4 separate regions of the Homo sapiens genome follow, and regions 1, 3 and 4 are each linked to region 2. The links are contacts of gene promoters, found by promoter capture Hi-C in blood cells and fetal thymus (Javierre and others, 2016). All regions are on one chromosome and are shown on one strand. The core of a region is centred on a gene start or on the middle of the fragment in contact, and the rest is flanking DNA. Distances in the headings are between cores, read along the strand shown.

Region 1 (7,619 bases), core at 2,568-5,067, 270 kb before region 2:
AGATGTGTTTCCCTTTGTTTGTGTCATCTGTGATTTCTTTCAGCAGTGTTTTGTAGTTTTCCTTGTAGAGATCTTTCACCTCCTTGATTAGGTATATTCCTAAGTATTTACTTATTTATTTATTTATTTTTGCAGCTATTGTAAAAGGGGTTGAGTTCTTGATTTGATTTTCCGCTTGGTCACTGTTGGTGTATAGAACAGCTACAAATTTGTGTACGTTAATTTTGTATCTGGAAACTTTGCTGAATTCTTTTGTCAGTTCTAGTAGCTTTCTGGAGGAGTCTTAGGGTTTTCAAGGTAAACAATCATATCTTCAGCAAACAGTTACAGTTTGACTTCCTCTTTACTGATTTGGATGCCGTTTCTTTCTTTCTGTTGTCTGATTGCTCTGGCTAGGACTTCCAGTACTGTGTTGAAGAGGAGTGGTGAGAGTGGGTATCCCTGTCTTGTTCCAATTCTCAGAGGGAATACCTTCAGCTTTTCCCTAATCAGTATTATGTTGGCTGTGGGTTTGTCATAGATGGCTTTTATTACATTGAGGTATGTCCTTTGTAAGCCGATTTTGCAGAGAGTTTTAATCATAAAGCATTGCTGGATTTTGTCGAATGCTTTTTCTGCATCTATTGAGATGATCATGTCATTTTTGTTTTTAATTCTGTTTGTGTGGTGTATCACATTTATTGACTTGCGTATGTTAAGCCATACCTGTATCCCTGGTATGAAACCCACTTGATCATGGTGGATTTTCTTTTTGATATATTGCTGAATTTGGTTAGCTAATACTTTGTTAAGGATTTTAGCATCTGTGTTCATCATGGATATTGGTCTGTAGTTTTCTTTTTTGGTTATGTCCTTTCCTGGTTTTGGTATTATGGTGACACTGGCTTCATAGAATGATTTAGGGAGGGTTCCCTCTTTCTCTCTCTTGTGGAATAGTGTCAATAGGATTGGCACTGATTCACTGGTAGAATTCTGCTGTGAATCCATCTGGTCCTGGACTTTTTTTTGTTGGTAATTTTTAAATTACCATTTCAATCTTGCTGCTTGTTATTGGCCTGTTCAGAGTATCTAATTCTTCCTGATTTCAGCTAGGAGGGTTGTGTCTTTCCAGGAATTTATCCATCTCTTCTAGGCTTTCTAGTTTATGTGCACAAAGTTGTTCATAGTAGCCTCGAATGATCTTTTGTATTTCTGTGGTGTCAATTGGAATATCTTCCACTTCACTTCTTATTGAGCTTATTCGGATTTTCTCTCTTCTTTTCTTGGTTAATCTTGCTAATGGTCTACCAATTTTGTTTATCTTTTCAAAGAACCAAATTTTTGTTTCATTTATCTTTTGTATTTTTTGTTTGTTTGTTTGTTTCACTTTCATTTAGTTCTGCTCTGATCTTGGTTATTTCCTTTCTTCAGCTGTGTTTGGGTTTGGTTTGTTCCTGTTTCTCTAGTTCCTTGAGGTACGACCTTAGATTGTCTCTTTGTGCTCTTTCAGACTGTTTGACGTAGGCATTTAGGGCTATGAACTTTAGCACCACTTTTGCTGTATCCCAGAGGTTTTGATAGGTTGTGTCACTATTGTCATTCAGTTCAAACAATTTTTTAATTTCCATCTTGATTTTATTTTTAACCCAATGATCATTCAGGGGCAAGCTGTTTAATTTCTATGTATTTGCATGATTTTGAAGGTTCCTTTTGGAGTTGATTTCCAGTTTTATTCCACTGTGCTCTGAAAGAGCGCTTTCTAATTTCAATTTTCTTAAATGTATTGAGGGTCATTGTGTGGCCTATCATATAGTCTATCTTGGAGAAAGTTCCAGGCACTGTTGGATAGACTGTATATTCTGAGGTTGTGGGATGGAATTTTCTGTATATATCTATTAAGTCCATTTGTTCCAGGGTATAGTTTAAATTTATTGTTTCTTTGTTGACTTTCTGTCTTGATGACCTGTCCAGAGCTGTCAGTGCAGTACTGAAGTCCACTACTCTTATTGTTCTGCTGTCTGTCTCATTTCTTAGTCTAGTAGTAATTGTTTCATAAATTTGGAAGATTCAGTGTTAGGTGCATATATGTTTAGGATTGTGATATTTTCCTGTTGGACAAGGCCTTTTATCATTACATAATGCCCCTCTTTGTCTTTTATCACTGCTATATATTTAACTGTTTTAAGGTTTGTTTTGTCTGTTATAAGAATAGCTACCCCTACTCACTTTTGGTGTCCATTTGCACAAAATGTCTTTTCCATCCCTTTACCTTAAGTTTATGTGAGTCCTTATGTGTTAGGTGAGTCTCTTGGAGGCAGCGGATAGTTGCTTGGTGAATTCTTATCCATTCTGCAATTCTGTATCTTTTAATTGGAACATTTAGGCCGTTTACATTCATTGTTAGTATTGAGATATGAGGCACTATTCCATTCATTGTGCTATTTGTTGCCTGTATACCTTGGCTTTTTGTTTTGCTTTTTAAATTGTATTTTTGTTTTATGGGTCCTGTAAGATTTATGCTTTAAAGAGTTTCTGTTTTGATGTGTTTCCAGGATTTGTTTCAAAATTTAGTGCTCCTTTTAGCAGTTCTTGTGGTGGTAGCTTTGTAGTGGTGAATTCTGTCAGCATTTGTCTGAAAAAGACTGTATCTTTCCTTCATATATGAAGCTTAGTTTCACTGGATACAGAATTCTTGGCTGATAATTGCTTTGTTTAAGGAGGCTGAAGATACGGCCCCAATCCCTTTTAGTTTGTGGGGTTTCTGCTGAGAAATCTGCTCTTAATCTGATAGGTTTTCCTTTATAGGTTACCGGTGCATTTGTCTCACAGCTCTTAAGATTCTTTGCTTCATCTTAACTTTAGAAAACCTGATGACAATGTGCCTAGGCAATGATTTTTTTGCAATGAATTTCCCAGGTGTTCTTCATGGTTCTTGTATTTGGGTGTCTAGGTCTCTAGCAAGGACACCATGGACTATGTCCTTCTGATATTCTCTCTTGCTTCAGCTTCCACAGCACCATCTTCTTCTGATTTTGCTCTTAACTCTCTCTTCACACATTTTCAGTCCTTTTTTTTTTTTTTTTAAATAAACTCTTCATCTTCTATATGTCTTTAAAATGTTAGTCTTCCCTATTCTTGGGCCTTATCTCTTACAACTCCACATACCTTTATTCCACTGCTCCTTTATTTACCATATTCCTGGTTTTGATACCTTCTGAGCACTAGACCTGCATTCTTCAGCTATTTTTTGGATTTTCTATTTTAATATATCGAAAATGCCTCATATTGTATTTCCTAAAATATCTTGCTTTGTTTTCTCCACCTTGATCAATGATACCTTTCTCCACATTTGTGCCTAAGCTAGATATCTGGGACTCATTGCTGATTTCATTTTCTGGCAGTTTCCATGAACACTTTGTCTTTCTACCCATCCTCTACCCCTTATTTTCTCCATGTCCTTTTGCTCCTCTGCAGTATTACTGCCACCCTTTAGTTTAGAGCTTCTTTCATCTTGACTAGGCTCTTATCTGGTTGCTTTGCCTCTGGCCTTCCCTTCTTCCAACACCAATAATTGTCTGCCTTCTCTTTACAAATATATATCTGATTATGCCATTCCCCTGCTTAAAACTCCATTGTTATCTAAATGTATAGCATTCCCTTCCTGAACAGGCATTTGGAGATTCTAAAGAAGTAAATTCTGCTTTTTCCATTACTCAAAGTTCTACAAAAAAAGTTGGAGCTGAAAAATTTTGAAATGTTAATTATTTAATAAATTACTTTATCAATCAATTTACTGAAAGCTATTGAGCATTTGTTATGTGCCCAGCTATGTATTAGATGATACTATATCCATTTTATCTCAGAATATGATACAAATTTTAAAAAATTTTTCTTATCTTGTTATTTATAAGTTATATAAATATCTCTTATCCACTACTGGACTGCACGATTGATCTTCTATTGCCAGTCATGAGCAGCTGAGAAGTAATAAAATAAATAACTTTAAAGATTTAGCAAATCCACCTCTATTGTCAGTAATTGAAGAGAAAAAAAGTAATGGCTGTGATCTCTAAGTTGCATGAAAAGGACATAAAGTAATCTCCAGAAATCAAGTGGTCTGCTTTACAAATGAGTGATCATGTTTATATTTTAGTGCCAAATGTCTACTTATTCCCTTGAATAAATTGTGTTTTCTTCAAATACATAAATACTACATATATTTTCATGTTCTAAACTATGAATGGGAAAATCAGCACAGAACACAGTTTCAGAGTCATCACAGAACAAGAAACTTCTTTGATGCTGTAAATATAAACTCTTCTGTATTTCTACCATACTAGAAGAATCATCTCTTTTTGAAGCCTATTTAGCAATAAAATCCCTCTTCTCATTTCATCCTATTAGAAGCCTCCAAAGAGCACTTAGGGAAATTCTCACTCCCATACATGAACGGAGATCCATCTATACTGAATCACTGAAATTCCATCAAACTGTACAAAATATCTCTGACATTACAAGGCTAGAATAGAGCTATGAGTGTTCAACCCTTAGTGACAGACTGATTACTGCCTGCACATTTCTGGAATAGAGTCATAGCCTATATTCCTACAAATACCCAATAATTTAAGTAGTTAAATCTATGAGCTCTTTTCTGAAGGTTTGTCCTGAAAGTCCCTTTTGTGTCAGAAATCTGTTTAAAAGCCATGCTTTCTACTCCTTGTTCTGTTGTTATAGCAACCATCATACTTTAGGTATATGGAAAGAAAGGAACATCACCTAACCAATAACATTCAATTGTCATGACACTTGCTATGTTAATTACAAAAAGGCAAACCAATTTCTCACTGCAGAAGCATAAATTCAGGATTGAACTATGCATTCAGATCCCATTTGACATATATGTATAATGGTGATAGTTGTAGTGGTAGTGAGGGGTAATAGAATCAGAGAAGGGGGATTAGAAAAGAAAAAAGAAAATAATATTAGACACTTATGTAAAATAAGCTTTAAAAAGTGTGAAAAAGTTCGAATGCAATGTTTATTATACTATCCATGCATTGAAATACTAACGCTAAAGTGGCCAGCTCCTGTGAAAGTATAAAATATGAGGTCTGTGATTTACCTATCCAGTAAAAAAGCTTACCACCTATGTGCATTTTTTGGATTGAAAGACGTATCTATAAAATATCCTTAATATTATTATATCCTTAAAATCCTATTTTGGTGGGTTGTTCCACTAAAGCTAGGAGAATCATCATGTAGAACCCTAGGGTTCTAGAAAAAGTTCATGCCATCAGCCAAGAAGAATTATAAACAATTCAGAAAACAACTCCAGGCATGCTACCAGGCACACTGGTAGAGACAGAGGGCCTGACTGGGAGGCAACAAGTAACCATGTGTCCAGAGCTGCTTATCATAAGTTGAGTTTTGTCAGATTCACAAAGTCATAAGATTTGGTGGGTCTAGCACCAGTATTCATTTAAGATGGAAATGCTGTATCTGGAAGCAGTCATGAGTAGGCCAGAGGACAAAAGTAGCTGCATGAACAAGTGCCACAGATTCACATATCACTGAACACTGCTGCCTGGGCTGTCATCCTTAGCTTGTATGTATAGCCACAAGAGTGGAGATTCCTTTATGACACCTGGTGGAAGAGGAAAAAAGCCACCCTTAGTTGATGGATAGAGTAGCTCAGTGTGTGGGTGCAAGCCAAAGAAGACTGCTGCTGCATTGCAGTCCCACTGAGGTATGGCCCTAAAATTCAGCAGTAAGGAGATATCCTCACAATGGACAGAGGTTTGTGGAGTGTGTTCTTTTCTTTGTGTAGAAGAAGTGCCTCAAAATAAGGATATACTGACGTTCATGGGTAATGGTGAACGGCTTCGCTGAATATTTAGAAGCTGGAAAGAGAAATACTTAAAGATCAGGGATAAGAAATTCTGGAAAAGAAACATATGAATAACCTCCAACTTGACAGAATGACTCAGCCGTTACATTATCCAGCCTCTGTCATCAGCCACTCCTGTGCTAGCACAATGGGTTCATGAATGGAGTAGGCATGTTGACAGTGCCAAAGGATATGAAGGGATTATGTGGGATCCCATTCACTAAAGCTAATTTTGCTACTGCTGCTGTCAGATATCAGATCTGCCAGGAGCTGGGTCCACATACAGCTTAATTCCTTGATGAGACCAGCCAGGCCCTTGGAATCAACTTGGAAGTAACGGGATCAATTGGAAGGTGATGACAGTCTCTTTTAGGAGCTCATTCCAGACCAAGTTATTATGCTGGGTTTATACTTAGAAGTTTTAATTTCCATTTTGATAGACAGATGTTAGATAAATTTATTTTAATATTCCCTATTAAAAATTAATTTTTGGCTTGACAGTCTATACCAAATAAAATGTTGCTGAATCTTGCTCACTAAAATGGAAACGGTTCCAGAATGAAATCAGTCATCAATCATTCCTCAGCATGAATAACTCATTTTGGTTAGATCTGGGTATTAATAAAACGAAAGTTAAAGTACCCAGTCTTTTTTAAAAATTTTATTTTAAGAAGGCATATTTTATTTTTAGAATATTTCTGTAGCAGAAAGTATCTGGTACAGGCCATTCAACTGCTGGTTGCTGTTCAAATTTCTAGTCAAATTGGTAAAGTGGGTAGAAATTGCTTTTGTATTTCCTCCTTCTTCCAGTCCCAAGTTACGGAACTCCTTGATATTATTCCTTGGGGACCCATATATCTGATGTTGAACTCAAACTGGGTCAGTGACGCTGCTGTTTTTAAGTTTAGCCAACTAATAGCAGTGTGGAATGATAGAACCAGATTTTAGATATATTGGACATGGAAAAGGTGTTTGTTGAATGAATATAAATATAAATGAATAATTTTATAAAACAGAAGTTTTTTTATAGGAACTTCAGAAAATATTTAAGAATCATGTATGTCCCATAGCCTCGATGCCCTATTAATTATCAGTTATCCTTTTACCTCCTGAAGATGTTCAATCCGTCCACTTCTCTCTGGCTCCACAGCCACCAACCTTGTCTACATCACTATCATCTACTGCTTGCAACACTGCTAATGGGTCTTATGCTCCTGCAATGTATTCTCTACAGGGCAGCTTACATGATATTAAAGTAAAAACCCGATTACTTCATATCACTGCTTAAAACATTTTAATGGCTGCTCATTGCTGTAAGAATAAAAACTGAAATACTCAGAGCCTTGACAGCCTCTAGTTTTGCCCATCTCTCTGGCAGAACTGTTTCTAGAGTTCTATTAGGGATAGTAATCTAGAAAGTGCGGCCAGGAGACTTCTCTGAAGGCTATGTTTAAGCAGGAAAAACAGTCTACCTTTACTAAGCATTTATGTTTATGTGTAGCTTGGGAGCTAATGGCACCCCTTGGAACACCCCTGCTTTCCAGCCTCACTTCTTCCCACTGCTCTGCATCCCCACTGTGCTTCCTCATTGCTGGCTTTTTTTTTTCCGGTCTTAGAATGTCCCAAGCTCCTACCATCTCAGGGACTTTTTATTCGCTGCTCTTTTTTCATTGAGATGGAGTCACGCTCCCTCACCCAGGCTGGAGTGCAGTGGTGCGATCTCTGCTTACTGCAACCTCCACCTCCCGGGTTC
Region 2 (7,760 bases), core at 5,052-7,551:
GGATACACCAAGTCTCAGACACAGAACATGGGCCATGTTTCAAAGGTAGTGTATACATCAACCAGGCAACAGCCAAGGATGCAAGTATGGGAGAGATAGGTTTGGGAAGTTAGGGAATGGCCACATCATGGAGAGAATTTTACTCTTGACTTTAAAATTCTTATTTTATCCTACAGCCCAGTATTTACAACCTCATGCTCTGCAGTCAAAGACTTGAATCCCAGCCCATCCATTTAATCATTCTGTGACCGTAGGAATGTTACTTTTCTTTCTTTACTTTTCTCCTTTTTTCTTTATTTTTTTAGTTTAGTTTCACTTTTTTTAACTTGTCATTATGAAAAATTTCAAAGATACAGCACAAAAGTAGAGAAAACTGTGCAATGAATGCCTCCCCATGTACCCATCACTCCCCTTCCACAATCATCAATATCCAACCTCTTGTTTTATATAAATCCATCCTACTCCCTCCTCACCATCCTCCTCACCTATTGCACCAGGCAGGATATGATTAAGTATCTGGGCACTCTGTGTGTGGCACCTGTTTAAAAAGTCCCTGAAGATGGGAGGGGCTAGGAAAGGATGCCTCTAGAGGGCGTATGTGCAAGCTGTATTGGAAGCAGTATTGCCCTTAGAGAATGTGGGAACCCAGCCTGGGTCTCAGGCCTTAAAAGCTCTGCTTCTGCCCTTTTCTGGCTACCCTTCCCAAAGGGAAAGAAGTCCCAATGAAATGTGCCCACTCAGAGCCTGTGCCTCCCGCAACAGGAGCTGGTACTTGGAACCCAGGAATTCCATGCCCAAATGGCTCGAGGCCACTCCCAGGGGATGCTCTGGCCCCTGCTTGTGTTCCACCATTAGGTCCCAGTAGTGGCAAGGTGGCTAGTGAGGGAATGGTTGTAGGCAGAACTGGGAATTGTGGGCTGAGTCATACACCTATGTATGAGGACCCTTGAGATGTTAAAATGGAGGGGGGAAGAAAGGGTCCTCCCACCTTGTTCCTGAAGACTGAGAGCTCCATCTGGAGCTCCACTCTTGCCCAGCAACCCACAAACTTTAAGGACAGGCCTCAAAAGTAAGGGATATCTACAATTTTTCTCAGTGTTCTTGAATTTAACTTATGCTACTGATGTCTTTTGTCAAGTCAGCTCCTAGGACTACTAAAGAGCCAGATGAGCATTGTCTGAATGCTGGGAGACAGAAGAAAGGTCACACATGAGACAGTGAAGTTGACCAATGTGGTTATTATCAGAAAAACAAGCTTGCACTGCCCATTAGTTTAAAGCAAGCTGACATTCCATTGGTAAGCAGGTCTTTTCAAGGACTTTCTCTATGTGAGGATTAAAATAAGCCCCTTCCCCCTTCCTCAGCCCCACTCTATCCTCCAACTGGGTCCTCCTGAAAAAAAAACAATACCCCCATTGTAGAAATTTTCTCCCTAATTCTGAGACACAGGAAAACTTGTCTGATCTTGGAACCCTCCCTGTCTTGTTTAAAACAAAGATCACCTGTGGATGCTTTTGTGAAAAACAATTCTTGTTTATTCACATACTACAATTTGGAAGAAGGGAAGTGCTAGGGGTAATATGTAATTCTATTACATCCTAGAATTTAGCTATTTAAAATGCAAGGGGAAGAGAGGCAGGTGCTATATGTCTTAACAGGCATATATCTAAAGGGAGAAAAAAGTAGAAAAGGCAAAATAGGGAAGCCCACAACAGCAATTAGGATTTTTTTTATTCCTGAGTGGATAATACGTGGTTTCATTTAAATAAAAACATGATCTCTGTTAATTTGTAAATCCAACAACTCCAACACTCACAGCTAGTGCCCTGGTAAGCCATTTTCAGACACATCATTACTACCTTGAAATTAAAAGTGAATCAGTCCTGTGGAGTTAATTACCAGTAAATTAAGCTAAAGTAGGTCTCCCATTGGCATGGAGCCAGTATAAGATGATTCTCAGTGCTAGCCAGAAACATTGCAAGATATCAAGATACCACTTGGAAAGCTGACTTCATATGCGTGGCAGATGTTTATAGGAATAGCGGGGGAAGTCATTCACAGCCATTTACAGTGAGAAACAGAGATAAAGTTCTAATTAAAAGAAGACCTTTTTGACAGAGACTTAGAAAAGCATCCCCCCTCCAGCCCCACCCCAAAAGGAAAATTCTCAGCTCTCTGTTGTTGTAACTTATTCCCCAACACTTACAGAAAGGAAATTTTACCTATTTCTCTTTGATGCTGGTATGTGGGCCTTATTTAATTATATAAAGTAGAAATAACTGTACAAACTAAAATTAGATAAAGCCAGCAAGAAGAAGTTACTTTCATCACTAGTGCTTTGGAATACCATATCCTCTGTTACAACGTTCTCAAGGAGGTATGCAAGGAAACCAGAGACAGAAGAAAAAAAACTCAGAATAGTTGTCTGAACTTTAATATTTGAATCAAGGAAAATGTGAACAGATGAAACTGTTAGTAAGAGAGAAATGGTGCATGCACAAAAGGGATAGATTAATAAAATGACAGCTGATTGTTGGTGATGAACATATTTGTTTTCCTTAACATGTCCCAACTTCCATAATTATTCAGATGTACAACAAGTGGTCCTAATGTCCTGGCTGAAATTGCCCAGGCGTGCAACAAAGCAAGCTGGTTTTGTTCCTGAATTATGCAGTTAACTGAGGCTGTTTGGGCCCAGATTTGATGTGGTAAGTAGTCAGAATGCTGACATATGATTATTAAAAATTATTAAAATTACTTTCTTCCCATTTTAATTTGATAAGGTGATTTCACACAATTTTGCATTTCAAATATTTCTAAGTAAATTTAGTAAACCAAAGATGAATATGACAAATCTCAAATAATATGTTTTAGAACACTTTCCCATTTGAACTGTTCACTATATATGACTGAGTTTATTATACCTCCTTCAACATATACGATATTGATGTTAAATGTCATGGTAATATATATGAACTACATAAAAACAGTGTTGCTTTCTAACGTGTGGCTTGTTTAAACCCTAAAAGAGCACAGCTGGCTTTGCTGAGCCAAACCATATTATTGATCCGTCTTGACTGTGATTCCACTTGTGAGATAAAGTCCCAACTGGGAGCTTTCTCATAAATTGGGTCAAGACAGGAAGAACTCTAGGTAGCCAGAGGTGTCTCTGTGTCTCTTTTCAAATAATTGAAGGCCATTTCTTCTGGTGTCTGGAAGAAGTAAAATATCCTTGTCTAACGGGTATTGCTTCAGTATACCACATGCCCAATAAGTTCTAGCATCTAGGAGCATGCAATAGCAGCTAATATTAGCTATGCAGTCATGGTATTATTAGTGTTTAATTATATCATGTGCATTGAGATATTTTAAATGTTAAAGAGAAAACAGAAGGACTTATTCTTCTTAGCAACCATTATAGTACAGAATGTTCAAAGCTGCAATCACATTCATAAGGCAAATAAATTGGTTACAAAATGAGGGTAGCAACAAGTGTGCATGCTATAGAAAATGTGAAACGGTACCTAAAATAGATAATCACCTTATTTGTTTTCAAAATTCCAGTGCTGGCTCTGACCATCAATTATCAAACTGGAAAATTTTCACTATAACACTCAACGCCAATTTTCAGTCTTAAGAGTGCGAAAAAAAAGGAGCATAAAATAATTTTTTTTCTCACTGGCTAAGATTCTACCTCATTTGAGAAAGACTTTATTAAAAACCCTTTTAAGAATAAAGGGCTTGAGGTCTTAATGGCAACTCATACTGGTGGGCACACCTAGGGCTTCACTGCCCCAGGGTAATATACAAAAACTAAATGGTAAGAGAAGCATCATCAAAGACAGGTTACTTTCTAAAATACTTTCTACATATTGTTTTCCTTCTTCAATGTTATTTCCTTTGGTTCATGCACACTCAAGGCGCTTCATATATAAGACGATGAAAGTGGAAAGGGTTATACATTATGAAAGCTCTTTTTCAAAAACAAACTGTGTGGAAATAAATTAACCGGTTATTTTAAAACGCCAGTTTGCAAGTTCTTCAAGTCTCTGGTGTTTTGACTTTAGGATTCCTCTAAAACACAGAAACAAAGGGTAAAAATCAGGTGGCCGTCCAAAATGACTTCGGGCGCCCCACTTAAAGAGACGCCTTGGTTCAGGTAGCCCGCTGGGGTCGAAGGCCCCATTTTCCCCCGATCTATCGGGCTTCGCGGCGGAAGTCTTCGTTCAGGCAGGGGATGCCCTAGGAGGGAAGGAGGCGACGGTGCCCAAGGACGTCGGAAGCCGGGGATCTCCGCTTCCCTCGGGCCCCGGCTAGGTTACCAGTGCTGGCCCGCGGCGCGGGTGCCCAGTTGCGCCTGGGACACTGCGGGCACGGCTGTGGCGGCAACGGCAGCGGCCGCCGCGTCGCCGACGCCCGGCAGGACTGAGCGCACGGAGCGGCGGAACTCCTCGTTCCTCCACGTGTAGAGCAGCGGATTGAGCGCGGACAGGGCGCAGCACAGGAGCCAGCTGGCCGCCTGCACTCCCCAGGGCACCGGCAGCGAGAAGCCGCTGGCCAGGCTCACCCACACCAGTGGCTGCGTGGCCAGCAGGAAGACGCAGCAGAGCAGCAGCACCGACAGGCCGCTGAGACGCCGCTGTGCCCGCCGCGGGTGCAGCGCGGGCGGCAGGGGCTGGGCCTGCGCCGGGTGCGCGGCGCCACCGGGGCCCGGCGCGTGCTGGGCGCCCGGGAAGGCGGCGGCGGCGGCGGCGCAGCCGGGCAACTGGTGCAGCAGGTGGAAGTTGAGCACGCTGACCCGCTTGACGCTGACACGCACGCGGCGCACGATGCCCAGGTAGCAGTGCAGCAGCAGAGCTGTCTGCGCCAGCAGCGCCGCGGCGGCCAGCAGCGCCGGGTAGTGGACTCGCGGTGGCGCGGCGCCGGGCCGCGGTGCCCAGGGCGGGAGCAGCAGCACGAGGCCCAGGGCGAGCGCCCAGGACAGCGCCAGCATGCCCGCCGTGTGGCGCCTCTGGTACAGCGCCTGGTAGGTGGCGGGCGCCCGGGTGATGAGCAGGTAGCGGTTCAGGGCCACGAGGCAGTGGGAGAGGAGGGACACCGTGAGTCCGAGGCCCAGCAGCCCACCCCGTAGCAGGCGGTAGCTGCCCCCAGCGCCGTCCCAGTCTGCGGGGGGCTCCGCAGAGCCGGTGGGCAGGAGCCCGAGCACCGCCTCCTGCGGCATCCAGAGGGCGCAGACGCTGAGGTCGGCGGCGCAGCCGTTCACGATGAAGGCGTTGCTGGTGGTCTGCAGCTTTCGGAAGGACGACACGAGATAGATGACCATGCCGTTGGCCAGCGTGCCCCCGATGGCCAGGCCCGAATACAGGAGTGACACCGGGATGCGCCGGCCCGCCCACGACTCCTCTTCCTCGCAGAGCAGCAGCAGCGAGCCACCGGTGGTGGAGGAGGTGGATGTGGAGGAGGAGTTGGTCATTCTGGCCAACTCTTCACACCTCCCTCGCTAGCGTCGGCTTCTGGCAGCGCGGTCCATCCTGACACTGTCCTGCCTGCCAGAAGGGCAAAGACATCCCTTCAGCCCTCTGCCACTGACACAAAAGGCTGAAGCAGAATAATGGGCTGGGGGAGGGGGAGAAAGGGAGCTCGAGGAGGAGGACGGGGGTGGCAGATGACAGGTGCCTGCCTCGGAAATGTCTCCAGAGCCAGGGGAAAGGCCACTTTGCATTGGATTCAGCAGGTATCGGGGAAGCCCTAGGACAGAGCAATACCTAAAACAGTCTCCTCTTCTCCCCCAACACACACACACACACACAGAGAGAGAGAGAGAGAGAGAGAGAGAGAGAGAGAGAGAGATATGTTGCCAGCTGGAGGACCTAGTTCCAGGAGAAAGCAGAGATATCCCAGCTGGGGAAAATCCCATGGGAAAGAGGTGAAGGTTACCTTGCGTTTAGGCTGGTCCTTAGCCGGTGTCTCAGGGGGAGGGATGCCGGGAAATACCTCCTCAGCAACAGCATCAGTGGTCCAGAAATCAACAGGAGAAACTCAGCTGGGATCAGTGCCAGGAGCAAGTGCCCGCTTCTCCCAAGCAGCATCCACACACATGGTCCTGGGCAGGAACTAGCAGCTGCAGGGAGACTTCTCAGCTGGTATCAGGGCTGGAGAAAGTAAAGTGGCGGGCTGCAAGCCCAGGCGGGTGGGCAGGCAGGCAGCAGCAGCAAGAATGCTTGGCTGCAAAAGCAGAAGCTGAGCTCAAGAGGAGAGCACCCTGTGCTCAGAAGCAGGAGTGGTGGCTGATGTGGTGAACCCACTCGAAGCTCTCTCCTGCTTAGTTATACATCATCCAGGGAAAAGACAGCCTTTCCACGCTTGGCATGAATTATTCAATAGCTTCCAACTTGTAAAAGGAAGAAAAATATCTTGCTCAGAAAGTCCTGTCGTTAACAAGTTTCTCTGTCTTTTCTCTCTCCCAATCACCTTATTTTTCATCCTGTTTCATTTTTCTTTCCGTCCTTTTTTTCCCTCCCTTCAATATTAGAATAAAATTTAATATACCCTAGAGTATTTCATCTCAGTCTGATGCATTTTGTGGGCAAGATTTTTCTGTGAGATAAATATATTCCCAGTACCCAGGACTGATCTCTTTATTCCCACATTTTTTAACGAGAATTACTTTATGCACTACTTGAAATTCATTTTTCTTTGGTAAAGTGGAACATAGACAATTATCCACAGAAAATCTCCATTCCTCAATTTAAATCGTACTTTCAGTGTTTTCTCATCAACAAACTCCTTTCCGGAGTTTGTTTTGTGTTTTAGTAATGAAATGGTTAGAGGGTAAAAATGAAATGGGCAAAAGATTTAAAGCAGATGTCAGTGGTACATCTAGACAATGGAATATTATTCAGTGCTAAAAAGAAATGAGCTGTCCAGCCATGAAAAGACATGAAGGAACCTTAAGTGTGTATCACTAAGTGACAGAAGCCAACTGGAAAGGACTACATACTGTATGCTACCAACTATGACATTCTTGAGAAGGCAAAACTATGGAGACAGTTAAAAAGACCAGTGGTTGCCCGAGTTAGGGGGAAAGGAGGAATGAATAGATGATCACGGAAGATTCTTAGGACAGTGGAACTACTCTGTATGATACCATAATAGTGGATCTGTGTACTTATAAATTTGCCCAAAGTGGCAGAATGTGAAACATCAGTGTAAGCCATGGACTTTGGGGAATGATGTGTCAACGTACATTCAATTGTAACAGACGAACCACTCTGGTGGGGGATTTTGATAATGGGAGAGGCTATGTATGCGAGGGGCAGGGAGTACATGGGAAATCTCTGTATCTTTCACTCAAATTTGCCATGAATCTAAAATTGCTCTAAAAAAATAAAGTCAATTTTAAAAAAATGTGTGTCAGGGGGAAAGCAAGAAACCTGAATAATCCACAGTGTGAACAAAGATGACTTTTCACTTCAGAACTTTTTGTCTTGTCTGTCTTGGAGATTTGCAGTCTGATGTTGGCATCTTCTTTGGTGCAAGTGTTCATTTATCCATTCCATGTGGGAATTTTTTCAGAAAAGGAGTTCTCTCAATTATTCACTGGAAAAGTCATGTATTTGAAAATGTAACTCAATATGGGAATATGGTAACATGGCATAATAGAAAAAAATGTTAGGTGGGGTTGCAGCACACCCAGATACTAAGCCGAGCATCCATCATGTAGCCTTGCGATGGATTATTTTCATCTTGTCAAATAAGTT
Region 3 (7,757 bases), core at 3,309-5,808, 310 kb before region 2:
CATATTTACTAGGCCTGCCACTGGATATATACTTATTTTATTTTTTTATGAGATTTTCCATCCAGATTCACACAAACTTTGCAAGATGATTTTTGAGAGGCACTATTTTATTACTAAAGTTTGGTGATCAACACACACTTCATTCTTTTACCTATTAATTTGAAAATTTGAAAAGAAATTGTTAATTGTGCAGTATGACCTGTCCTGTAAAAGATATACTTTGCTTATGTTGTTCATATTTCCATCACCAGTTTGTTGCATATATATATGACATTGCATTTGAGATACGTCATTCAAATATGTATATACATACATATTCGAATATGTATGTATATACATATTTGAATGACGTATCTCAAATGCAATGTCATCCATAGAAGGATAGCAATTACCAAGGATATTCTCTTTCTTAAGAAGCTATAGTATTGTTTCTAGTCATCTGGATTATCTCCAGTTGTCAGTGATTCCTCAAAACTCATTTTAAATGGATTAGTGAATATGTATGCAAAGTCCTTGAATATATTATAATTAAAGCTAGACTAGTGAATTTGGCTATGTTCCAATTGTTATTGTTTTATTTACTGTTATTTTATAACATTTGAAAAACATTTTTCAAGTATTTTTTTCCTAATATGTTTGGTTATATGTATAAGAAAATATATTTAACTATTTATTATAATTAACATAATTCTCATTACAAGATCATATCGAATCGGTTCAAAATAAATTACTCAGTGAATGCCAATTGCTAGAACTGATCTATTCAGTCTTGTGTTGGGACCTACAATACTCTTGTCTCATGAACAGCATAAAATGGCCTTAGGTAACCACAACAGTCAGTTTTCAGGCATCGGAATGATCACGCACACACACGCACATTTTAAAGGTACACCAAATCAATATAGTTTATTTTATTATTTTATAAGCTGGGGCAGAAAACATATCTTGTGCTTTTCTGTATGCCTCAGAGAGCCTAATGCAGGTCTATGAAGATAGTTGATGCTCCATGCTTGGATAACTGACTGAAAGTGAGTGAGGGCATCAGTAATACACCTAGAAACTGCAGCCTGGTGCTTGGGTTCACATCCTGGCTCCATTATTCTTGAGCTGTGTGACTCTGAGCAAATGACATAAACTCTCTGCGCCCCGGTTTCTCAGGTGTTCACTGAGTAATAATAATTATACTTACTTCATAGGATTTTTTGTGAGCATTAAATGAATTGATACATATAAGTATTTAAAATATTACCTAACATATAATAAATATTCAATTTGTATCAGCTATTATCATTTGGAATAGATGGGCTAAGATGGAGCACTTTTCTTTAATACGTTGAATACACATCTTTTCAAAGCTATTCCTCCAAAGTGATCCGCACAGAATGGCTGCGGAATGAAGTTTCTTGCTGCTGTGAACATTAATGAACATTCAAGTTTTGGTTCAGTTCTAGACATCAATAAATGCCAGTTTTCCTTTTCTTTTCTTCCGTGCCCTACCATGTTCTTTACCCCATGTCTCTGTCTGATAGTTGTTATTCTTATTACTGTGTTATGACTAAGTTTTTGGCATTGCTAATCCCACATCTTTGATCTCAAAACATTTATTATTCTTTGGACCTTTCATCTTCGTTTACAAAAAACCCAAAAACTTGACTCTTTGTAACTACATAAGCCTGAATTTAAACCTTGGCTCTACCACATAACCTCTTCAGTCTTTATTTACTCATCTACAAAGCGGAAGAATTAAATCTATTTACAGGGTTGTTGACAGCATTAGGGCAAGTTTATGTTATTGTGGGTGCCCATCACAATGCCTGGCACATAGTGGATAATCAAAACATAGCAATTCCTTCTCTCCATGAACTGATTTTTCTCATTTTTAACTTTCTGCATTATTTCTTTAAAAAACTGAGATAAAATTTTAATTTAATTTAATGTAATTGACTTTTAATCCATCTTTTCCACAACATTTCAAATTTTTATTTTCCAAAAGAAGTTAAAATCGTTTTGAATCCTCCAGCCTCTTTAAAGTACTGTCCTAGGGCCTACATGGAATACGAGACTCTATAAAACATCACTTTCTCCTCTCAAAATAAACCTGTAATTTACTGGTAGTTTTAATTTTCATGTAAATTACTATTTGGGAGCATTAACCATCAAATTTCTTATGTATATTCTATAGTGAGTATGAAGTTCTTGGGTCATAAGTATGAGCATTTAAGAACATAATTTTATTTTTATGTAACAACTTGGTTTTGATTTTAAGATCTTTTTTTTCCCCAGTAGCAGATAAAATAATTAGATCAGTTCTGGGTAAACTCAGTTGTTAGGGTCTTCTCTCCTCTCTGATGTGAAATTTAATTTCCAGGAGCTTTTGGCATGGTGGTTTCTGATGGGGGTGATGGAAGGATAACTGGCTCATGCTTGCATCTGTCCTTCATATTGGCTCCCATGAAGATGTTCTAGCCCATGGAGACTTGCACAAACCTTCCTGATGGCATCTGCAGAGGTGTCCCTGTTCCCACCTGCACCATAGTGGTGTGGTCCCTACTGCTTCCCCCTCATCAGGGAGTCCCCTCATTATGACCATGAGCCCCTTGCCAATTCTCTGGCTAGTTTCTGCACCCCTTTTGAAAAGCAAGAAAATTAATTCCTCTCATACACCACTATTGGCTCTTAGGAAGCTCAGTAAGGTGACCTTGGGCTTTAGGTGCCCACACCCACATACACAACCACATCTGCTACTAAGCCTGTTCCATGACGGTAGACGGAATTTCTGGAGACAAGGTTGTCTTCAAAAATTCCCCATGATCTTACTATTCAAAGAGTGGACCATGGATTATCTGCATTAGGATCAACTGGGAATGTGCAGACTCCTGGGCCACATTTCAGAACTACTCAATTAAAAGTGTATTTTAATAAAATCCTCAGGTAATTTTTATGCACATTGAAATTTGCAAAGCACTGATCGGAGATACAGCATAGAGTTTCAATTTACCCTCAGAACCTTGACTTCATCTAAGGATTCTATTGCTCTCATCTCCCCGAGGGGCTAATTACTGAGGGAGAGGTATGGGGAAGTAGGGTCTGGTGATCTTTTCTAAGAGAGTTTTGTCAATGTCTTAACAATCTTGTTTCCCATCTCCACTATATCCCTTTTCTTCTCTTAGTCCAGATAAAGGTTTAAGTTATTTTCTTCTGAGAGAGGAAAATGCTCCAGCAAGTATTTGATTTAATCTTTCTATCACATAGGTGGGCATTTTAAACTGAAAAGCCAAGAATGTGTTATATTTATTTTCTGATTGTGCTGTAATTCCCTCTCCTTCCCTTCTTCCTCACATCTCTGCTTGGGCCATTGGAACAATTCAGTTTAGTTGCCTGGATAGGGGAGGTTCAGGGTCAAGGTAATATAGGAGAAAGCAATTAATACTTGTCCATATCATCTCATGGGGATAAGGATTTTATTTAGGTTTTAAAATATTTTAGACTCAAATGGATTTATGTTTTCTAGAAAGCCAAACTACATTTCTGAAACTGTAGTTCATTCTGTCATATTGAAAGTCCTTCTATAAGGCTGTGTTTTCTGAAAATGGGCTTTGCTCATAGAATTTTTGTGTGTAGATAGTGAATATTGGGCAAGTAGACTGATAGAAAGGACTTAAGCCTCTTCTGTCTTCAACAGTCCAGTTTGGTGCAATAGTTGATGTTTCAGATAGGTCTTCTTTGACTCTTTAAGAGTGAGCTATGCTCACTTTGAGTTCCAGGTATTTACTTCGATGTTAGCATTTAACACTTTGGTCACTGTATCCCTTATTAGACTACAAGATTACTGAGGACAAGGATCAGAGTCTCTTTCACTGTTTCATCCCCAATGCCTAGCCCAGTTCCTGGCTCATAGGAAAAACAAACCTGCTTGGATGAATAAATGAGCAAATTTATTGGTATTATTCAAAATTTTCCTCACTGAGCCTCAATACATGAGAGGGAGAAAATAAATATATAAAGTGTCATGGAAGTCTTTTAGTCCAATCACTGACTCAAAGTAAGAATCCTATATATAGAATCTCTACAGAGTCAAGCTTTTGCTAAAATATTTCCAGAAGAGGGAATATACTTAGGTTTTTTCCATTTATGGATCATTCACATTTTTAGAAAGTTCTTTCTTTATTGAATCAAAATCTGCCTCCTTAATTCTGTCTGCCCTTTGGAGTTTTATAGATTTCCATTTCTATAGTATAATTCTCCAAGTTTGCTAAAAAGACACAAGTTCAAAAAGATTTAAAATGTAGTAAGGATGGCTCATCTTGCACAGAAATCACCAACAGCTGGAACATCTGCTTTCTCCCTGATAAAATAAATAGGCTTTGCTTTGAATTTAGGTATTTATGGAACTGTCAGAAATGGAAAGGGAGAGGAATATGTGGGTTTGGCTACCACATTCAAGGAGGGAGAATTACCTTGATTTTTAGCCTTTGATGTGAGAGCAGCATCGTTTAGGTGCTTTATGATATCTGTCATATAACACAATATGGGGATTCATTTCTGGTTGTGGTATTTTACATTTGAAAATGCTCATCAAAATTTCTCTATGTGCCCTTGTTCTATGCCCATATAGCTACTCCCTACTGTCATTATCACTCCAAATTCTACATTTGAAAGACCAGAATTACCTCCTCCTCTTAACCAACTGTTTCTACCAACTACTCTATCACTGGCACTATTATTCTCCCAAGAGCAAAAAATACGTGGTTCATTTATCCTGCTCATCCCCACATCCTCTCAGCTACATAGTCGTGAGCATTTCTCACCTGTAGTGTTTCTTACATTTACTTCTTCCTCTCCAGTAATGATGAGGAGGCTCTCATTGCTACATGATTCATTTGCTGCTTCCCTTTCTCACTCCTGCTCCTATCCTGTTTTCGTGAAGAAGACATAGCACAGCTACATTATTTTTTTCTTGAATTCCATTGTCATCAATCTTTCACCTAATTTAAAATCCCAAACATATGGATGACCTGGTACATCAGTCTAAGCTTCTCTACTTCCATCTCAAGGTCCTCCTTCAACCCCAAAACCCTTAACTCTCAAATTGTCCAGGCTCATGTTAGCTACTGCACCACCCCATACAACCCACCCCAAACTCCAAGCCCACTCCAGTTGGTACCCTCTTTCCTTGCAACCCATCTGCACCCCAACTCATCCACAGCTGTGCTACATTTGCATTTGTATTGATCTGCTCTCTCTTCTGTGCCAATTCTTAAGTTATATTTTCCCCACAAGTTTTTATTCCAGTTATTCCAGGCCTTATTCTTCTCCTTCTCTTTCTATCACTTAACATTTTTATTGTGAATTATGATTTTAAAACAGGTAAATAAAACATGTGCACAGTTTTAAAACAGGTTGTGAAAAGAATACCCATGTAACTACCACTCAGATAGGAAGGAGAGTATTCTGGGAACCCAGTACATTTTACAGTACTAATAGTCTGTACCTCATAATTTAGTACTTATGGTAATTAAGTATCATCTTGCCTTGTCTTATGGCTTAAATGTGCCATTGTATTCCTCCTACTCTATTGTAGGCTATTGAAAGGCAAGGGCTCTACAGATTATTCTTTAGAATATCCCACAGTGTCTCAAACTGTGCTAAGTAAATACTACATATTCAAGAGATGCTTGTTCATTGATTACAGACTAGGAAAAAGCAACACTTAGTACAAACAATATGTATGTTTATGTCCAAAAACTAACATTGTTATATCTTTCAAACACATGTTAATCTTTAGGAAATAGCACAGTTCTAACGTCTTAGCTTCTTTTTTTCCCACATATTGTCCTCCTTGGTTTCGGTTTTCTTTTCTTTATATGGCATTCAGCTTTCCTGGTGATTTCTCAGGGAATTTCCAGTTTTACAAAGCAGAATATAAAAGAATGCCTTGATAATAAATAGAAGTCCCTGGCAACACAGTAGAAACACCAATGATTGCCTGTCTTAATTCAGTTAAAGAACTGCTATAATCACAAAGCAGTCTTCTCTCTTCCACTGCACAATTCTCTCATGAAAAGAAACTCTGCATTGCATCCAAAGGTCTTTAGCAAATGTTAATAACATTCCACATATTGGAGGTTTTATCACACAGGACCTCCAGCAAAGATTCCATAACAGCAATAGGAAGAAAAATATACATATATATATATATATATATATATACACACACACTCTAAATATATATACTAAGGAAATAGTAAACCTAAGAAATGCACATTTGAAAAAAAAAAAAAAACTAATCCCTGAAGGAGTTCTCAGTGCAGGACATTTGACTTAAGGAATTGTGCATTGTAAATTACATTAAAAATGTATAAAATATGCTGATAGTGATATACAGCAAAACAGCATACATATTACAAGACAACAAAGAACTCTAATGTTTGGTCAGATCTATGAATCCCTGAGATGTTGGGTTAAGTAAGTATTCCTTACATAGGAGAATCTGTGATTCAGCAGCAGAAAGAAGGAAATCTATTCTTTTGTCCTATCTTACAGTTTCTATGACTGAGGCAAAATTCATTATATTAAAGAAGCATTTCTTGTTCCAGCTAATTATAATCAGACAGTGGAGAAAAGCAGAAAGAAAACTTACATTATCAAAATGGATATATTTACAAGAGCTTAGTTCATGCATAGAGCATTAACTAAGGCCACAAGTGAAATAGCTGTATTAGGTAAGGTAGTAAACCACCAAAAATGGTATCTGACAATCATGGTGTTCAATCAGTTAAGCAACTAAGCCTAACTGTCAAGCTTCAGATATGAGGAAATGGACAAAACTATTTGGAAGGCTTATATTTTTATTAATTTAGTTAACAAATATTTATTGAGTGCCTACCATGTGCCAGATCCTTTTATAGTTACTTGGGATATATCAGTGAACAAAATAGACAAAAGCCTTTGCTCTTATGTAGCTGACATTCTAGTGAGGATATGCTGATGGCCCTTCATGTTGTGTGATATGCCGTTTTTATGAATTTCAAAACCAAAAAAATACATTGCTGATTTTGTGGTGAAACCATAGAAAGACTAAAAGTAAACATAAGCCTCAAGATAGTGGTTAACGCCTGGGAGAAAGAGGGTAATAGGATCAGGGAGGAACAAACAGGTAGCTTCAACGATATTGGTGATAGTAAATTTCTGAGGTTGGGTAATGGATTAACAGGTGTTTATTTTATTATTTTACTTTTTAAGCTAGCACAAGTTATATAATTTCTTTTGCACATATAAAATATTACATCATGAAGTATTTTTATATTAAAATAGGAATGTTTTTAAAAAGAGCAAGTGGACAGGGCATGGAACAAGGGAGATAGCCCATGTAATTTAAAATGGCCGAGAAAGTGGCTGGCAAGATGGCCGAATAGGAAAAGCTCTGGTCTGCAGCTCACAGTGTGATCAACGCAGAAGGTGGGTGATTTCTGCATTTCCAACTGAGGTACCTGGCTCATCTCACTGGGACTGGTTAGACAGTGGGTGCAGCACAAGGAGGGCCAGCCAAAGCAGGGTGGGGTGCCTCACCCAGGAAGTGCAAGGGGTTGGGAAACTCCCTCCCCTAGCCAAGGGAAGCCATGAAGGACCATGCTGTAAGGGATGGTGCTATCCAGCCCAGATACTATGCTTTTCCCATGGTCTTTGCAACCCACAGACCAGGAAATTCTCTTGGGTGCCTATGCCACCAGGGCCCTGGGTTTCAAGCACAAAACTGG
Region 4 (7,179 bases), core at 33-2,532, 500 kb after region 2:
AATCCTCAATGGTGGCCTACTTACACATTTACTACTGTGCTAGCAGTTGATCGCGGCTCCAATAAGATATAAACAGAAATGGAATTAATGGTACAATTTCTGCACACTTCAGGTAAGTGAAACATATATATCACCTTTCCATTCTATTTCAGAACGCGGTATCAGCGGATGCAACAAAGACCACACAGTGTAGCAACGGAGAAATGTTAGCATAAAACAGTTTTGTTTTGTTTTGTTTTTCAATTAAAAATCCTACGTCCCCAGCTGGTTAACTACACACTGCATAAAGTTTACTGTGATGACAACTGTTTCTAAAAAGCAAACCTTTCTTCCCTTCAAAGTGTCCTCCTCCGATCCTTAGGCCATGACTGATTCTAATACTTTTGATCTTAAGACACACAGTGATGACTTTTCTTTGAAAACTAGCAGGTTCGAATGTAGGCCCCAGGTGTCTGCCGTCATGCTTCCGACTCCGGGAAGTGAGGGAAGCCCATCTCCGGTCAGGGTTTACTGTAAGCAGCCCAGAGCCGGAGCACCGACGCAGAGAGACGTGGAAACAGAAAGCGAACGTACTACGGGGCCGCAGCGGGATCCCCGCGCCAGACGCCACCCCGTTAGCAACATATGGGAGAGCAGGGATGGTTCCCAGCCCCTTGACAAGCGCGGCGACGGCTCCGCGGGGCCTGGCGGCGAAGGCGAGGCGAGGCTGCGGCGACGAGGGGCGCGGCGGGCGGGCCGCCGGGGGAGCCCCGCACATTCCTCCCCGCGGCGGAGGCGCACGTGGGGTTCGAGGCCGCAGGGCCTGCAGAGGCGGCCAGAGCAGAGGGCGGCAGGTGCGGGAAAGAAAGAGGACGGGCCCCGGAGGCCGCAAGCCCGAGCAGCGGAGGACGATTCCCGGAGCGGCGGCATGCGGGTCCGCGACCCCGAGGCACCGGCAGCTCGGACAGGGTGGGGGAAGGGAGGGAGGCACCGGGACGCCTAGAGACGGCAGTGTGGGGGTCTGAAGGAGAGACCGGATGGGGGCCCCGAGGGACGCTCGCCGGCGCGGAACTCAGCTCACCGTGCCTCCGTCCTTAATGATGATCTTCTTGGCCAGCATGATACTGCGGTTCGCGGCCCGTTTCTTCTTCTTCCCCTGGGTCATTTTACCATCCTCGATTCCTGGCGCTGCTGCAGCCACTCCCGGGGCGGCAGGCCCCAGCAGCTAGTGCCGTCCCACCACTACTGCCGGGCCGAGCCGCTCTGGGCGCCCGCCGCCATCTTGAGGGCCCGGCCTGCCTCCGGCGGCGCGTCACAATCGTGCGATCAGCCGACGAGCGGGCCCCGCCCCTCCCGCGTGATACCGCCCCGCCCGCTCGCCGCCAGCCCACTCTACAGTAGCCGCGCGGCCAGGGTAACCGCGGGCTCGCGTGGGTGCTGCTGGCTACCTGTACAACTTCGTGCTCCGGCGTCACCAGCTAGCTAAATCCTCGCAACGGTTCTGGGCGATAGGGGCCGTTTTTGTCCCCCTTCTTCAGCAGATGAGGGAATTTGTTTCAAAAAGTTGTTACCTGCTCACGGAAACAGACGTCCTAAGCTATTAACACAATCTCCAGCTGTGTTCTAACCAAGACAGGAACCGAAGGGAACAGTAAAAAATCATTTTCCGTAAGTAATGGGTAACTTAAGAGATAATGTAGTGTTTCAGAAACAGTCTTGTCCTTTTGGTGTTCAGGGACCCCCGCTAGAACTCAGCTGGCTCACGCTTGTTTACCTCCCTAGACCCAGGACCTTTTTTATTCCCTGCCAAAAAAAATACCTTACCTGACCGATGTCACCCTTTGTGGCCCTCTACGTTTTTACTGTATTGTTTAAAAATAAATTTGATGGGAACATTGCTAGAAAGGGCAATTTACACAAGTGGAAGTGGACTTTAAAGTATCACAATGTTAAAATTAGATATTGATAACTACCGTGTTGTATAATAGAATATCCTTTTCCTTAAGAGAAAAACACGAGGGATAGGGATACACCGCATGCTCCCTACTCTCAGATGGTTAGGGAGTAACATGTATGTGTATGTATATGTAGGTGGGGAAAAGAGAGGGACAAAGCAAAATGGCGAATGTTTAAAAGTACTGAAACTAGGTATGGTAGTTCTAAGATATGTTCACAGATTCAATGATATTCCTCCCTGGAAGAGGTGGACTCTAATTCCCCTCCCCTTGAGTGTAGACTAGGCTTAGTGACTCTTGATAGATCAAAACAGAAGTGACAGTATTGACTTCAGAGGCTAGGTCATAAAAGGCACTGCATCTTCCTTTGCGGGTCTCTTTTTCATTCATTTTGGGGCTTGGAGCCTGGGGAAGCCTGCTTCCGTGTTTTCAGGACACTCAAGCAGCCTATGGAGAGATCCAGTTGTCCAGGAACTGTTTGTAGCCTCCTACCAAATGCCACGGAGTGAGTCACTTTGGAAGTAGATCCTCCAACCTTGGTCAAGCCTTTGGCTGACTACAACTTCATGAGAGACCCAGAGGTAGGACCACCTAGCTTAGCCACTCCTGGAATCCTGACTCAGAAACAGTGTAAGATGAAAAGTACTTGGTGTAAGCCACTAAGCTTTGGGGTTATTTGTTACACAGCTATAAATAACTAATATATAGGGTAAAAGGAAAAACAGTAAATGAATGTATGAGTTCTTTGTACTGTTTTTGCAACTTTTCTGTAAGTTTGAAATTATTTCCAAATAAAATGTTAAAAAGTAAATTTGATTGAATTTCCTTTTCCTTGTATTTTCATACTGACTAAAAATGGAAAAAAAAACTAATTTCCATGGAAGGGAGAAGAAAAGCAATTTATAGCCTGATAGATACTTCTAATTATATTTTCCAATCAATAAGTATATTCATTATACTTGTTTTGAAACATATATTCTCATTTTGAAACTTTTTTTATTATTTATTTTTTGAGACAGAGTTTTGCTCTTGTTGCCCAGGCTGCAGTGCAATAGTGCCAACTTGGCTCACTGCAACTTCCAGCTCCCAGGTTCAAGTGATTCTCCTGCCTCAGCCTCCCGAGTAGCTGGGATTACAGGTCCCCACTACCATGCCTGGCTAATTTTTTTTGTATTTTTAGTAGAGATGGAATTTCACCGTGTTGGCCAGGCTTGAACTCCTTACCTGAGGTGATGTTCCCGCCCCAGCCTCCCAAAGTGCTGGGATTACAGGTGTGAGCCACCATGCGTGGCCTATTATTATTTTCTGAGGCAGGGTCTCACTCTGTCACCCAGGCTGGAGTGCAGTGGTGCCATCATGGCCTCCTGCAGCCTCTTCCGAAACGATCCTTCTGCCTCAGCGTCTCAAGTATCTGGGACTACAAATGCACACCACCATGCCTGGCTAATTTTAATTTTTCTTTTGTAAAGACAGAGTCTGGTTATGTTGACCAGGCTGGTTTCAAACCTGGCCTCAAGAGATACTCAGTTCTACCAAAGTGCTGGGATTACAGGTTTGAGCCACCGCGCCTCGCCTGCAACTTTTTAGTTGACACCCAACTTGAAGTTCTTTAGAGAAAGTAATATGATAGATTTCATAATTCAATTCCCAGGAGCTTGTTTTGAATGGAAGTAGAGGGCTGATAATTTATTGTGTGGTTACTTTGATTTTCATAGTCCCTCAAAATCATACTTCATCTAGCTATACCAATTTTATCAGCCTTATGAACTGGTTATTGTTCAGTCATTCAAAAAATATTTACTGGGTGCTTGTGTTGTCAGTGTTTTATTAGATGCCAGGGATACATCAATAAATGAGACACTATCTGCACAGAGCTTACATTCTAGTGGGGGACACAGTTACAAAACAAAAGGAAGGTAATTGCAGATTGCAGTAAATACTGTTGGAAATAATGTAGTAAGAGAAATTTAACACATACTAAATGTCCAGAATGTCCCAGGCTTTGTGCTAGAAAGGCTGCAATGATAAACAAGAGAGAACAGTCCTGTTCTAATAGGCCTATTGTGTATGAACTTGTCGCTTTGTATGTGATTTGGGTTGTGAATACAGCTGGCCCTCAGTATCCTGTGGATTCAACTATCCTCAGAATAAAAATATTTTTTAAATCCCACAAAACAACAAAAATACAAGTAAAAAATACAGTATGACTACACAGCATTACATTGTATTAAGTACTATAAATAATCTAGAGATGATGTATGGGGAGGATGATAACCAAATACTATGCCATTTTATGTAAGGGACTTTAGCATCCACTGATTTGGATATCCACGGAAGTCCCACAACCAATTCCCACTCCCCTCCTCATATGGAGGGATGACCGTATTCACAAACTTTGCGCTAAGAGACTGATATCTCAGTTAGGGTTTTTTGGTTAGGATCAACAGAAACTAACACTGGCTAACAAACTAGTACTCGCTAACGTAAGCAAAAGGGAATTATTTGGAAGGATATTGGAAGTTTTGAAAATTAATGAGAAGGCCAAGAATCAGGCTTAGAAACAAGCAGAAACCAATGTTTGGAAAGTTCATGAAAACAGTTCATGAGGCACCTTGAAAGGGAGTGGGATTCCTTGGAAAGAAAGGCAAGTGGCCAAAAGTAAAAGATTCCTAAAGAAACAAGATTGTATCACAGAATCCAAATCCCACCCCCACCATGCACAATTTATTAAAGAAACTGCACTTCACCATGCTAACAGAAGAGGGTCCTCTTTAACTAAAAACTGAGTAAGTCACCCACATCCCTTCTACCCTCCATTCTATAGAGCCACCTGTTATTGCTGATTGAAGAAGATCCTACACATTTAATCATGAATAGAAAAGCCACCAAAAATCCATACAAGGCTATTATAAAAAACAGAAAATGAAAACTTTTCAATCAATAGAAAATACTACCCTCTAGACAATATGAAGCAGAGGCAAATAATATACAACACTCCAACATGAATATCATTAATTGCACATATAAAAGAACACAGCAAATAAAAATTTTTAAACTCAATAGTAAGATGTAAAATGAGAGTTGAACAAACATAGGCAATATACTGAAAAGATAAAATCATCTAAAAATGAAAACTAAATCACAGGGTACCTGAGAGACACAAATAAAAGTAAAGTAAGAAATACAGAGAAGAGGAATAAAACAGCTATGAGAACAAAAATGAGATAAAAAGGATCATAGATAAAATAATATAGAAAAAATTATCTGGGTCTCTAGGTAAAAAACAACAAACAAAATGTCATTTCCAAAAGGGAAAAAAATCAAGTGGTGCCACACTTCTTGATGATAACATCAAGCAACCCAACAGTGAAGCACAAATTCAGACAAACTCAAGAAAAGGAAATGTTTGTCAAGGATTTTCTACATGGCCAAGGTGTACTTTAAGTATCTAGGCTCCAGAAGAAATTTTAAACATGTCACAACTCAGAGAATATTGTACAGTACTTACAAGCCCTCCTTGAATACTCTACAGAAGAGCTTCATCCAGCCAAAAGTTGACCAGAGAGACTTCAGGTAAGTATCAGTAGGTTATTAAATATACTTTTTTAAAATTTTAATTAATTTTATTACAAAGGTGGGGATTAGGATGGGAAAATAGTGTGTAAATATTATATGTTCTAATCAAAAAGAAATAAGACTACAGAAAATATGAACAGATAATATATTCACTGACGGTCACATAGACAATTAGATAAGAGTCAAAGAACATCATTTAAAGGTGTCAAATTAAATAGTAGAGGCCTAGACAAGCAAATTGGGGACTCTAAATGCATTATATAAAATGTTATCAGTATAAATTAGAGCATACAAACCTTTCTAAACATCCAAAGAAATTTTATAAAGACCCCATGTTGTGAAAGAGGCACAGTAAGTACAGCAATATGCATATTTGTTTGCTTTTTAAAAAGAAACACATGAAAGATAAATTGGAAAACTAAGAAAATACTTATAATAATTACTTATAAGAGATGGATAATAATTACTTATAAGAGATGGTTAGGAATGGAGGGATAGGTATGACAGCTAGATTTTTTCAGAGTACACTTTTCATATAAAACTTTTCGAAAAAATTTATCTTTTTTTTTTTTTTTGTAGAGACAGGATCTCACTCTGTTGCCCAGGCTGGTCTTGAACCCCTGGCCTTAAGTGATCCTCCCACCTCAGACTCCCAAAGTGCTGGAATTACAGGGATGAGCCACTGCACCTGGCCATGTTGCTAAATTTTAGTTGTAAATATTAATTTGAATTCATGATCTTTTAAAATTGTATTTCCTAGCTATGTCCACTAAAATGGCCTAGAAACAATGACAGCTCAGTAACAATGGATTCTATAATAAATTCCATTCACTGGCTAGAAGGACTCCAAAGAAAAAATTAAATAAATCCCACTCCCCTTAAAAGGTATAGGGCTCCTTGGAGAATTAGCTGATAATCCAAATTTGGAACAAGACAAATATAAGGTAAGCCTCAGATTTCTTGTGCCTAAAGCAAATAAGGACTAAAAGACTAATGTGGTCATGTTTAAAAAACACAAGAGTGGCCGGGCGCGGTGGCTCATGCCTGTAATCCCAGCACTTTGGGAGGCCGAGGCGGGTGGATCACGAGGTCAGGAGTTCAAGACCAGCCTGGCCAAGATGGTGAAACCCCATCTCTACTAAAAATACAAAAAATTAGCCAGGCGCGGTGGCAGGCACCTATAGTCCCAGCTACTCAGGAGGCTGAGGAAGGAGAATCATTTGAACCCGGAGGGTGGAGGTTGCAGTGAGCCGAGATCGTGCCACTGCACTCCAGCTTGGGTGACAGAGTGAAACTCCATCTCAAAAAAAACCCAAGAGCTAGCTTGCTGTGACTTACATGGGCTAGAGGCTCACAATATATATGAGCATCAAAAAGAACTGTGACCGATTGGCTATAATATATTGAGTAATTTTTTTTAAATTCATGAAGACATGGTCTTTTTTTTAAAGAGGGATATTAGAGAAACAGGAGGGAAATATACTTTTTTATTTTAAAAAAGAATATAAACTAATAAATGTAGAAGAAATTTAGAGCACTAAAAAAAATTTATCACCATTTTGCACCCCAGTGTAATAAATGATTCAGTCAAGAATCATCAATTGATGCTAAAGGCATTGGGAAACAGAATATTCTCCTGGTGCTAAAACATTACTCCATAGATTACTAA

Evidence for each region. The method cuts DNA at HindIII sites, captures the fragments that hold promoters and counts their contacts. A CHiCAGO score of 5 or more calls a contact.
Region 1: a fragment that was not itself captured here is called in contact with the fragment with the promoter of GPR88 in region 2 in 1 of 17 cell types (M2 macrophages); the score reaches 5.6 in M2 macrophages.
Region 3: a contact is called between a fragment that was not itself captured here and the fragment with the promoter of GPR88 in region 2, in 6 of 17 cell types (megakaryocytes, M0 macrophages, M1 macrophages and 3 more). The highest score is 10.5, in megakaryocytes.
Region 4: the fragment with the promoter of SLC71A1 here is called in contact with the fragment with the promoter of GPR88 in region 2 in 1 of 17 cell types (monocytes); the score reaches 6.2 in monocytes.

What each region holds. Positions count from the first base shown.
Region 1 is chr1:100,808,927-100,816,545 of GRCh38, reverse strand. No RefSeq gene overlaps it. Among named protein-coding and RNA genes, the nearest start is that of EXTL2, 82 kb to the left of the region's middle. The HindIII fragment of the contact is 2,337 bases long and covers 2,649-4,985 here.
Region 2 is chr1:100,536,680-100,544,439 of GRCh38, reverse strand. GPR88 (G protein-coupled receptor 88) reads right to left here and starts at 6,301. Exons shown (of 2, transcript NM_022049.3): 1 at 5,938-6,301; 2 at 2,419-5,546. The coding sequence starts at 5,473. The coding sequence ends at 4,319. RefSeq lists a silencer at 4,740-4,909 and enhancers at 4,179-5,027, 5,180-5,579, 5,028-5,877. The HindIII fragment of the contact is 8,214 bases long and covers 1,258-7,760 here.
Region 3 is chr1:100,845,734-100,853,490 of GRCh38, reverse strand. No RefSeq gene overlaps it. Among named protein-coding and RNA genes, the nearest start is that of EXTL2, 45 kb to the left of the region's middle. The HindIII fragment of the contact is 954 bases long and covers 4,082-5,035 here.
Region 4 is chr1:100,032,198-100,039,376 of GRCh38, reverse strand. SLC71A1 (solute carrier family 71 member 1) reads right to left here and starts at 1,282. Exons shown (of 12, transcript NM_033055.3): 1 at 1,061-1,282. The coding sequence starts at 1,144. It overlaps LOC124904230 (a long non-coding RNA gene), which reads left to right and starts at 1,369. Exons shown (of 7, transcript XR_007066251.1): 1 at 1,369-1,647. SLC35A3 (solute carrier family 35 member A3) reads right to left here. Exons shown (of 8, transcript NM_012243.3): 8 at 3,743-7,179. RefSeq lists silencers at 656-845, 1,306-1,485 and enhancers at 966-1,245, 1,208-1,810. The HindIII fragment of the contact is 6,938 bases long and covers 1-2,600 here.